Linked DNA regions of Homo sapiens: regions 1, 3 and 4 are each linked to region 2. Evidence: promoter capture Hi-C in human tissues and cell types (Jung and others, 2019). All regions are on one chromosome and are shown on one strand. Each heading gives the region's core, a stretch centred on a gene start or on the middle of the fragment in contact. The rest is flanking DNA. Distances are from core to core; before and after follow the strand shown.

Region 1 (2,760 bases), core at 33-2,532, 360 kb before region 2:
GCACCTCAAACCAAGGGCAAACATGGGCCACCCGTACAGCTCACGCTCTGAGGGTGCGGGCACGAGGCCTCCGTGGGGATGGTGGGCTCGGGATGTGAAGGGTGGGCTCAGGCTGTGAGGGGCGGGCACGGGGCCTCCGGGGGCAGCCGGAACCCTGGGGACAGGCGGTGAGGGCGGGGCAGGCCCTTCACCCTCAAGGTGGATGACCGGAGACGCCACCGGGTGACCGCGTCCCTTCCACCGCCCGAGCAGCCGCCCGGGCCCGCGCTGGAGCCTGGAGAGACCCCTGCGCCGGGGAAAAGCGCTGGCGCCCCGCGCGGACTGGGGTTCGAGTTCCGGCTCCTCCGCCCGCTGCGGCTTCGCGCCATGCGTTTCTCGCCCTTTCGAGGTGAAGCCACGCGTTTCACGCGAGATGGTGACCGAGGAAGCGCCCGTCTGGCGCCGGCCCCGTGCCCCTTCGGACCCCAACCGCGATCACAGCGGGTTCGCTTGAGACCCACGTTGGAGCGGGAGCCCCGGACGCCTGGAGGTCCGCACCCCAGCGCGCGCTCCCTCGCCGGCCTGCTCCCGCCCAGCCTCCCGCCCCCCGTCGGCCGGCGCCCCTCACCCCTCAATCTCCTTGCGCCTCTTGGTCGAGCCCCCTGCCCGCGCCTCATGCCTGGGCGCTTCACTCTGGCCCGGGGCCCCCTCCCCGAACCCTGGGCCGCACCCCTCACTGCGGGGCACCCCCCTCTCTCCTCCGAACCCCGCTCGCCGCCACCTCCTCCAGCCCAGCCTCTCCCCACAGCTCTGGACACCCCACCCCCAGACCTGGTAACCCCCAACCCTGACCCCGAGCTGAGCCCCAGCTCCGGGGGGCCCCGCCTTGCGCCCCACTGGCCTCAGCGCGCCCGCTCTGGTCTCCGCATCCCCAGCTCGGCGCCAGCCCCGGCCCGGTGGCCTCTCGGCCTCCCACGCCCCGGCCCTACCTGCACCCACTGGCCCTGCGCCTGCTGCAGCAACGCCACGCTGGGGTCGGACTTGGTGAGCGGGTCGCGGTCCAGCAGGTGCCGGCAGCTGAGCCGCAGCTCCACCTTCGAGGCGCAGGGCGCGGGCAAACCCCCGGGGGTTGCCGCCGCCCCGCGCTCCGAGCCCGCGCTCATGCTCCCGGCGTTCGGGGGCCCGGCTGGGCGCACTGAGGGGCCGCTGCCCGCGAGTCGGCGCCGCCGCGGCGCCCGGGAAATGGTGGCCGGCCCAGGCGTGGCCGCGCTTCCCTGAACGCCTGCCGGGCGCGGGCGCACGTGGCTCGGGCGGCCGCCGCGCGGGGACTGCAGGGGGTGGGGCGCGGCCGGGGGGCGGGGCCGGGGAGGGGCGCGGCGGGAAATGAGGGCAGGGGGCAGAGGCAGGGGTGCCCCTCGGAGATGCCCGGGAGGAGACAGCTTCTAATTCCCCGGGGACCCCCCCCCCAACTGATAGCTTTGGGGTCAGGTCGGGCGCGCCCTCCCCGGCTGTGCGCATCCCCGGCCCAGGGACCGGCTCCGGGCTGGAGGCTCCGAGCTGCGCGGGGCCTGAGCCCGGGTTCGGACCCAGGCAGACACTAGGGGAGGCAAAAGGGGGACCCCAGCTTGGCACCAGATCCCCGCGCCCTTCCCGGATCTCTAGGATCCCATTTCCAGGCTCCGCTGGTTTCGGGTACTCGCCACCTCCATCAACAAGCATTTAGTGGGCGCCTGTTGTGTGCAGGCGCCGCGCTCGTCTGGGGCTGGAAGGACCGTCCCGGGGGGCCGAGGGCTGAATCGCGGTCTGATTCCGAGGGGTCCGCGGGGCACGGTCCACACCAGTCCCCCGAGGCCGGGGCGGGGCGGGGCAGGCCTGGGTTCCGTGGGGGGTGGGCCCGCTCCGCCCTGAACTCACTCCCCCACCTTCCCCATCACCGGTCCCGGGGGAGGGAGCAGCGGAAGAGGAGGCGTCGGCGGGGACAGAAACCACCTCGCAGTCCACTCTTTTTGCCGATTTCTGCCTAAAAATAGGGCACGGACCTCGCCAAAAGCCACGGGGGTGGGGGGCGAGGGTGAGGGAGACATTAAGACTGAAGAGGCGGGAAGACCGGGCGCCTCCGCTCAGCCTCGGCGATCAGGACTCTAGAAGAAGACCCTGCGGTCAGAGGGGACCGCCGCCGACAGGGCGAGGAGGCTCAGGGCCCCGCCGGCGGGAGGCAGCACAGGCAGCCTCGGCCTGGGAGGAGGAACGCGGCCAGCGGCGTCCCCTCGCGGTCGGACGGCGGGATGGCGCCGGGCGCGGCTGCAGGGCGGGGAGGCCCCACGGGGCTGGCAGGGCCGGGAGAGGCCATGGAGACCGGCTCCTGCCTTCCCGGGAGGTTGGCTAAAGAGGCGAGGAACAGGTCAGGGCGCAGCGAGGCCTGCAGGGCCCCATCTGCTGTCTCCCCGGCCTCTGCGCCTCCTCCCTGAAGCCCGCAGTGGGCAGAGGCCAGTCCCGCTCTCTAGGGACCAGTCTGGGCCTTCCCGGCCCTGTGTCCTCCTCAGCCCAGCCTTCCAGGCTGCCGGGAGGCCACATCCTCGGTCCCCAACCACTTCCATGGGAAAAGGATGCGAAATTCAGGCAAAGGGTGCGGGCGCCCAGGCAGCTCCTGCAGGCCGTGCCTCCCGCTCGGTTCCAGCAGCCCTGGGACAGTTTTCCCCAGACCAAGCTCCGCTTCCTGCCTTGACCTCACCCGAAAGCTCCTCACCACCGCCCTGAGGTTTGCTCGTCTGCAGTGTGGCG
Region 2 (2,700 bases), core at 22-2,521:
CACCATGCAAGGCTAATTTTGTACTTTTAGTAGAGACGGGATTTCTCCATGTTAGTCAGGCTGGTCTTGAACTCCCGACCTCAGATGATCCACCCGCCTCGGCCTCCCAAAGTGCTAGGATTACAGGCGTGAGCCACTGTGCCCAGCGGACCTTATTATTTTTAATTATTATTATTATTTTTTGAGACGGAGTCTCGCTCTGTCGCCCAGGCTGGAGTGCAGTGGCGCCATCTCGGCTCACTGCAAGCTCCGCCTCCCGGGTTCACGCCATTCTCCTGCCTCAGCCTCCAGAGTAGCTGGGACTACAGGAGCCCGCCACCACGCCCGGCTAATTTTTTGTATTTTTAGTAGAGATGGGGTTTCACCGTGTTAGCCAGGATGGTGTCGGTCTCCTGACCTCGTGATCCACCCGCCTCGGCCTCCCAAAGTGCTGGGATTACAGGCGTGAGCCACCGCGCCCGGCCTAATTTTAATTTTCTTAGATGAAATACTAATATTGTGGTTTCAGTAGGATAATGTCCTTACCCTTAACAGACGCTTTACCAAGTATTTAAAGGTTAAGTATCATGTGTGCAGTTTAATTTCAACTTACTTACACTCAAATAATAATTCACCGTAAGGTTTATTTATTGGGGGAGAGAGAAAACATGGCCCAAAGCTAAAAAGGAGTAAAACGATTGCAGTGGATATTCCTTGTAGCAGATGTTCACATTTTTATTAGATTCAGATTTTCTAAAGCAAAACGTGAGAAAAAATACAGTTAGTCGAAACACACTGTTCACCGTGGATTCGATTACTCCAAGACCAGCGGGACAACGGCCGCATCCCTCCCGCCCCGAGGGCCGGGCCTGGAAGTCCCGGCGGCGAGGGACGCGCGCTCCCGCTGGCCCCCACGGGCTAACTTTCACAGGGAGCTGCACGCCCGGGGCGCTCAGGGGTCTACCTTACGCTTCGGTCCCAACACAATGTGCCAGAAACAAATAAAAAACGTCAAAGCCGAAGCCAGATTCTCACAGAAACACGCCCTGTTCAAAGTGAAGGAAGCAAAGGGCCCCTCTCTCACCAGCTCCGCGGAATGGAAGCGCTGCCCGGGTCTACCGCGAGCGGCGGCGACTTTCCCTTCTGGAAGCGGTGCCGGGGGCGCAAGGCGCGAGGCAGGCGGGCGGGCGCCCACTCCCGGACCAGCTTCCCCGCGGACAGCCCGAGGACACGCGCGGAACTCTCCGGCGCCAGCACGCACCGCCGCAAGAACCGGATCAGCTGTAAGACAGGCGGAGGCGGGGCCGGCGCCGGAAGAGGGGCCGGCGCGTCTTTGGCGTCACTTCCGCCTCCAGCCTCCGGGCCGAAGCTTTGGCCTATGGTGCGGGGAGGTAGTAGTTTCTTCCGCGAGGGTGCGGGAGGGCCCCGGGGCGCCCTTGGGAACCGGGCTGGAGGCAGAGACAGGCCCGGAGGACCAGGCGGACGTAAGGATCAGGCCTCTGGACGCAACTGCGGAGCCGGAACAGACCAGGAGGGCGCGGTTGGGCGGGTACAGCCAGGAAGTGCTCGTCGCGAGCGCGGCCCGCGGTTCGGTCACAGCGAGAAGCCCGCGGGTGCTGGGAGTGCTCGGTCTTCTCTCGATCTCTGCAGGGAGTCACTGGCCCCGTTCCTTTTTATCTGTCTGAACATCACGCCGAACTTTTAACAGTTGATTCCACTGCATTTTCAATGTGGTATTTTTTTTTTCTGTAAATGTTCATCTATTTTTCGCTTCAAATATGCGTTTCTGTTACTTTTCTAATGTACCGTAGGAGCCAAGACCACCTATACTACGTTGCAAAATAGCACTGATACCAGGGGTTCTCCCAAGGTTCATTCAGAAATGTCACATGATTCCAGTAACAATACGAAAAGGTTTTTTTTTTGGAACCAGGCATATTGATCCTGGAGTTCACATGGAGGAACAAATGTCTCATAACGCAGACGACGCGGACAAACAAAAGCGCAATGCCCGACAGATGCGAAAACAGCCTCTGTCATTAAAACTGTGTGCTAGTGACACATGAACAGGAAACAAATGGAATATCCAGACATCAACCCAGTAACATGGAAATTTGGTTCATAAACATAATTTCAGAGCGGTGGAACAAACATGCAGTTTATAATGAAAGGTGCTAAGACAAATGGTTAGCCGTCTGAGAAATGATGAAATTAATTCTGGATCTCACAGGGATAAACTCCAAACGGATCAGGAGTCTAAATGTGAAAAACAAAACAAAACCACATGTGAAGTGTTCACGTGATTTCGTGGCTGATTAAGAAACAAGATGTGCCCAGGAGGTGGCGGTGGCGCACAAGCTTTGACAGGTTGGAGGGTGAGGGAGTCTCACGCACCATGAGATTACCCACAGGCTTCGAATTGGGGGTCACTACTCAGAAAAGAGAAAAAAATGAGCGTGGGCGGGGGGCGCGCAGAGAACTCCCAGAGAAGAAGGAGATCAGACAGGGGGAGGGCTGACGTGACTAGATCACGTTTCTCAGCAGCCTGACAGGTGTCTGAGTCACAAAGCTCTGAAGGGCAGCAACGGCTTGCAGTCTTTAGAGCCCCAGGATTTATCTTATCTATGGCTAGCAGAGATTGGACACAATTTCACGAAGTATACAAAGCAACCACATGCTAAATGGTTCAACACTATGAGTGTTTGGGATGTGTTTTATTTA
Region 3 (2,875 bases), core at 247-2,746, 310 kb before region 2:
CTCACACCTGGAATTCCAACATTTTGGGAGGCTGAGGCAGGCGCGTAGCTTGAGATCAGGAGTTTGAGACCAGCCTGGCCAACATGGAAAAACCCCGTCTCTACTAAAAATACAAAAATTAGCCGTGCATGGTGGTGGGCGCCTGTGATCCCTGCTACTCGGGAGGCTGAGGCAGGAGAATCACTTGAACTGGGGAGGTGGAGGTTGTAGTGAGCCGAGATTGTGCCACTGCACTCCAGCCTGAGTGACAAAGTGAGACTCTGTCTCGAAAAAAAAAATTAATTAAATAAAAAAATGTTTTGCAGAGACAGGGTCTCACTGTTGCCCAGGCTGATCTCCTACTCCTGGGCTCAGTCACTCCCCTGCCTCAGCGCCCCGAGGTGCCAGGACTACAGGCGTGACCCACTGTACCAGGCCTGCAGAGGGAACACATGTCAGCCCCTCGAGGTGCCAGGACTACAGGTGCGACCCACCGTACCAGGCCCGCGGAGGAAACGTGTAAGTGACGCACGTGATAGGCAGCTCATGCACTGCCACCAACTGGCTAAGGTGTTTATGTGGTTCTGGAAAAAGCACAGAGCTTTGCAAGGGATGAAGGGCCCAGGACGGCTAACGGCACAGTAGGCATGGGTCTTGGCAGCCTCTGCTTGGCTGAACCATGTGCACGAGGCTTGTGCTGCTGGTTGAACAGGCACCAGCACCTGCTTGGTGTCCCCATGGGACATGGTAGAGGTCACCGCCAACCCACGACACGTCATCGATGGAATTCCAGGTCCCGCAGGAGCCCTTCTGGGAGAGGAGGACGGCCGGCCTCTGCTCACACCTCCCTCCCGGCCCACGCTGCTTTCACCTTCAGATAATCCACAAACTCGCGGACTTCCAGTTTGGCTTCGTGCATTCCTGCCACGTCTTTGAAGCTGACTCCTTTCCCCATCTTCCCATCCACAATGGTGAAACGAGCCATTTTAAGCTGATTCTGTGCAGAAAGAACAAAGTGCAAGGAGCTGGGCGAAGTCAGGAAATCAGCAGCACGATGCCAGCGCTCAGCCCACGCACCTGAGCCGCCCCAACCCCACGTCTCCATCCTAGGATCCCAAGGCTTCACTCATGTCAGGCTGACGAGGCTCACAGTCAGTCTTCAAGCACAGAAGGGAAATGTTTCGTCATTAATTAGTAAGAAACTTATCTAGCAATTTGCTTTAAAAAAAATTACTCAGCCAGGCATGGTGGCTCACGCCTGTAATCCTAGCACTTTGGGAGGCCGAGATGGGCGGATCACGAGGTCAAGAGATCGAGACCACCCTGGCTAACACGGTGAAACCTGTCTCTACCAAAAATACAAAAAAATTAGCTGGGTGTGGTGGCAGGCACCTGTAGTCACAGCTACTTGGAAGGCTGAAGCAGGAGAATCGCTTGAACCCAGGAGGCAGAGGTTGCAGTGAGCTGAGATCGCACCACTGCACTCCAGCCTGGGCAACAGAGCCAGACTCTGTCACACACACACACACACAAAAAAGAAAGGCCAGGTGCAGTGGCTCATGCCTATAATCCCAGCACTTTGGGAGGCTGAGGCGGGAGGATCACCTGAGGTCGGGAGTTCGAGACCAGCCTGAACAACATGGAGAAACCCCGTCTCTACCAAAAATACAAAATTAGCTGGACGTGGTGGCGCGTGCCTGTAATCCCAGCTACTCGGGAAGCTGAGGCAGGAGAATTGCTTGAATGCGGGAGGTGCAAGTTGCGGTGAGCTGAGATCGCACGGCTGCACTCCAGCCTGGGCAAGAAGGGCGAAACTCCGTCTCAAAAAAAAAGAAAAGAAAAACGCAGATTCAACTGCCCTGTAATCTCACAAGGCTCAGGCACCCCAGAGTTAGGGGTGAGAGGCCCTCAGGCAACATTGGTTACTACACGCCTTACAGCCGGACCATGGGAAAGGAAGGTGAGCTGCTGTCTAATTGTGGCTTCAGGCTACTCTCTGCAACAGGTTTTCCCTGTGTATTCATCGTATAGCTTATGGGAAAAGTATTCAGCAAACACAAACCAGAAAGAGTTCAGAGAGCTCTGATTTACAGAACTTACAAAAGCACTGAATCCACCTTCCCTTCCAGTCATCCCGGCCAGACGGAAAACATACCACAGGATGGCCAGGCCCACTGCCGTCATCCCCACAGAGTACAGGGCACTGCCGGAAGAAAGAGAGGCAGGCACAGGCTCAGACGGTGTCACGTGACAGACGCAGGCTTCCAAATCAGAACCACTGCTGGCAATGTTTCCAAGATGAGACGAGGAATCCCTACGTCTGGGACCGATGCGCAGATTAAAATGGTTGTGGAAATGGGTTCTCTCGTCTCATTCTCGCTGACTGTGCTTTTTCATGAAAGCTTCCCAAATGGTCAGACTGAGTGTGCAGATGCCGGAGATCTAGCCAGCCTTGTGACAATAACAACGTTCAGGTTTTTCTATTTTCAGTATATTTTGTTTTCAAATGTAAGCGATCAGCTTCAATCAGGCAGGCAAGATCAGCCTAAGAGTAAAAAGCAAATCTCAGGCCGGGCGCGGTGGCTCACGCCTGTAATCCTAGCACTTTGGGAGGCCGTGGCGGGTGAATCACAAGGTCAGGAGTTTGAGACCAGCCTGGCCAACATGGTAAAACCCCATATCTACTAAAAAAATACAAAAATTAGCTGGACATGGTGGCATGCGTCTGCAATCCCAGCTACTTGGGAGGCTGAGGCAGGAGAAATGCTTGAACCTAGGAGGTGAAGGCTGCAGTGAGTCAAGATCGTGCCACTGAACTCCAGCCTGAGCTACAGAGCAAGACTCCATCTCAAAAAGAAAAGAAAAATGTAAGAATAAACCCTGTGTCTACTAAAAA
Region 4 (2,700 bases), core at 29-2,528, 260 kb before region 2:
ATGAGTGAAGGCAAATGGAGGGTGTGGAAGGGAGACAGAGAACAGCTCTTGGGCGTTGGAGAAGTGCTGGGACTTGTGTCAGTGCTGCCCGTGTTGGTTTTCCAGCGCTGCTGTAACTAACCACCATAACCTTAGATTTATTGTTTTATAGTTCTGTTGATTAGAAGCCTAACATGATCTGCCTGGGCTAAAATCTGGGTAGGTAGGGCTGGTTCCTTCTGGAGGCTCCAGGGGAGAATCTGTGTTCTTGTCTTTTCCGTGTTCCAGAGGCTGCCTGCATTCGGCCTGTAGTGCTTTCCTCAGTCTTCAAAGCCAGCCTCATGGCATCTCTCTGACTCCTGCTGCCCACCCGCTTTTTTGGAGAGTCTCGGCTCTGTTGCCCAGGCTGGAGTGCAGTGGCACAATCAAGGCTCACTGCAGCGTCGACCTCCTGGGCTCAATCAATCCTCCCGCCTCAGCCCCCCAGCAGTGCTGGAATTACAGGCATGGAGCCACTGTGCCTGGCCCTTGTTTCACTTTTGGATCCTTGTGGTTACAAATTGGGCCCACCCGAGCACTGCGAGGTCATCTCCCTCTCTGCTGATTAGTAACCTCAGTTCCCTTTTCCACGTAACCTAAGGCATTCACAGGTTCCAGGGGTGAGCAAGCTGGAGGTTTTTCCAGTAATGTTCCCTTGCTGTCCTCAGATGCCATCCGGGATCCCACATTGCATTTAGTTGTCATGTCTCCTTAATCTCGTCTGCAACCATTTCTCAGCGTTTCCCTGTTTTTCATGACCTTGGCAGTTTTGATGAGGGCAGTCATCTTTTTTTATGTCTTTGTGACTGACCGTTCACACATTGGCATGTTTGTAAAGCACGGTGTGGCTGACGTGTGGCTCACCTGACTGCTTTTCCAAATGGGGTGCAGTGTGCTCTACAGTGGGAGAACAGCTTTGTGTCTTCTTTTAGCTGGAAGGAGCTACATGTTTTATAGAAGGGACTTCTGAAACTAGACAAACTCTGCTTTTTCTGATGTTTCACTGATTTCCTTCACAGATGTTCATTGGCTGCTCACTGGGTGCAGTGCTGTGGCCTCCTGTTCTGAGATCTGGGAGAAAGATGCATTTAGTTGACTAAAGCTTGCATTAAATATTGGTTCTTATGAAAAGAGAGATCATAGATCAGAGGAGGGAAAGGCTCTGTGACCTGGGAGATTTAAGGGAAGAAGTGCTATTTTTTTTTTTTTTAACTGTAAGCTATGTTTCTGTTTTAAAAAAAGAATCAGTAGAATGTCACTGCAGAAATCAGAGTAAGGGCATCTTCGACTTCGGGAAGGCTGGGGACAAAGGCTGGGAAGGCCGCATGTAACGTGAGAATGTCAGCCAGACGTGTCTGAACACGAAAGCCCATCCAAGAAGATGGAAGATGACAGCAGATTAACCTGGAAGCATGACTGGAGTTGGGTTGTGTAGGGTTTGCAATGATAGACCTGAATTTCATTTGCTTACTTGTTTTGAGGCAGAAGATGATGTGTCAGAGTTTGCAGGCGGTGGATGCCTAGATGAAAGCACTGGCTTTGCAACACCATGGTGCCTAAATGGTTCTTTTTTTGAGACAAGGTCTTGCTCTGTCACTCAGGGTGGAGTGCAGTGGCGTGACCATATCTCACTGCATCCTTGAGCTTCTGGGCTCAAGTGAGCCTCCTGCGTCAACGTCATGAGTGGCTAGAACTACAGACGTGCGCTAATTTTTAAAAATTCTTTGTAGAAATGGGGTTTCGCTATGTTTCTTAGGCTGATGTTGAACTCCTGGCCTCAAGTAGTCCTCCTGCCTCAGCCTCCCAAAGTGCTGGGATGACAGGCACAAGACATCACATGCAGCCTTAAGAAGATCCCTACAAGAGAACCTGGAGAAACTTGAAATAGGGAAGGGGACTCGAAAGCACACTGTGTAGGTGAATTGTGAAGACTTCATGGTGTTAACTGGTATTCATTAAAAAGACTTGGAAAAAGAGAAGATGAATTGATTCCCAGTGGAGGGAATGGGGCAAACATTAGTTAGGAGAGTGGCTTTGTGAAACGATAGAGCAAAGGAGACAGAAAAGAAAGCAGGAATGGGGAACGGGGTGGTGGGGCAGAAGCTGGGTGCTGTTTATTTTGTGCCTACTGTGTGTCACTCTCCATTCTCTGCCCTGGGGACATTTGACAGATGTGGACGTCACTGGTGTGATTTGCCCACATTCTGGAGGGAGAAGTGGGCATCTCAGTTGAGGAAAGGAAATGGCTATCTGGGGAATTCTTGAGGGGCACAGCCCAGGACGGAGCCTTGTGTTAGATGGGTACCTGCTGGCTCTGCTCAGCTCGGCAGATGTGTTGCCTAAATGACTTTAATGGCCAAGGCAGACTGGTATTTGCCCTCAGATATTTTGTCAGGACAGTGTAAAATGTGGGCCAAGATAGTGGTTTTGGGTCCAAACAGAAGGGGGTTAGAGATTTTGGAGGTTGAAGCCTGCTGCTAGAAGGAGTATAGAAAGAAGAACGGGGATTCTGTTTGCCCAAATACATGGTTAGGCTCATCTTGGACTTGTTTTTGTTTTATATCTTCTGTTACTTCTATGCACATATTAATAGATACCTAATTAATATTTGGTTGGAAATCTTAAAAGTTAGGATTTTTTTTTTCTTTTTTTTTGAGATGGAGTCTCACTCTGTCGCCCAGG

Evidence for each region. The method cuts DNA at HindIII sites, captures the fragments that hold promoters and counts their contacts. A contact is called where the count stands out against the background at its distance.
Region 1: the fragment with the promoter of CPNE7 here is called in contact with the fragment with the promoter of ZNF778 in region 2 in 2 of the 25 tissues and cell types used here (dorsolateral prefrontal cortex and lymphoblastoid cells).
Region 3: a contact is called between a fragment that was not itself captured here and the fragment with the promoter of ZNF778 in region 2, in 6 of the 25 tissues and cell types used here (IMR-90 fibroblasts, dorsolateral prefrontal cortex, hippocampus and 3 more).
Region 4: a contact is called between a fragment that was not itself captured here and the fragment with the promoter of ZNF778 in region 2, in 6 of the 25 tissues and cell types used here (adrenal gland, bladder, dorsolateral prefrontal cortex and 3 more).

What each region holds. Positions count from the first base shown.
Region 1 is chr16:89,574,280-89,577,039 of GRCh38, reverse strand. CPNE7 (copine 7) reads right to left here and starts at 1,282. Exons shown (of 15, transcript NM_153636.3): 1 at 969-1,282. The coding sequence starts at 1,142. RefSeq lists silencers at 1,819-1,888, 2,129-2,358. The HindIII fragment of the contact is 23,727 bases long and covers 1-2,760 here.
Region 2 is chr16:89,216,274-89,218,973 of GRCh38, reverse strand. It overlaps ZNF778 (zinc finger protein 778), which reads right to left and starts at 1,271. Exons shown (of 7, transcript NM_001201407.2): 1 at 1,064-1,271. It overlaps ZNF778-DT (ZNF778 divergent transcript), which reads left to right and starts at 1,321. Exons shown (of 1, transcript NR_186410.1): 1 at 1,321-2,700. RefSeq lists enhancers at 1-384, 385-915, 1,440-1,489, 2,439-2,700. The HindIII fragment of the contact is 6,098 bases long and covers 1-1,843 here.
Region 3 is chr16:89,528,784-89,531,658 of GRCh38, reverse strand. SPG7 (SPG7 matrix AAA peptidase subunit, paraplegin) reads right to left here. Exons shown (of 17, transcript NM_003119.4): 6 at 2,080-2,182; 7 at 851-976. Among named protein-coding and RNA genes, the nearest start is that of SPG7, 22 kb to the right of the region's middle. The HindIII fragment of the contact is 6,586 bases long and covers 1-2,875 here.
Region 4 is chr16:89,480,449-89,483,148 of GRCh38, reverse strand. The region is part of intron 1 of ANKRD11 (ankyrin repeat domain containing 11); the gene reads left to right. Among named protein-coding and RNA genes, the nearest start is that of ANKRD11, 8.8 kb to the left of the region's middle. The HindIII fragment of the contact is 7,186 bases long and covers 1-2,700 here.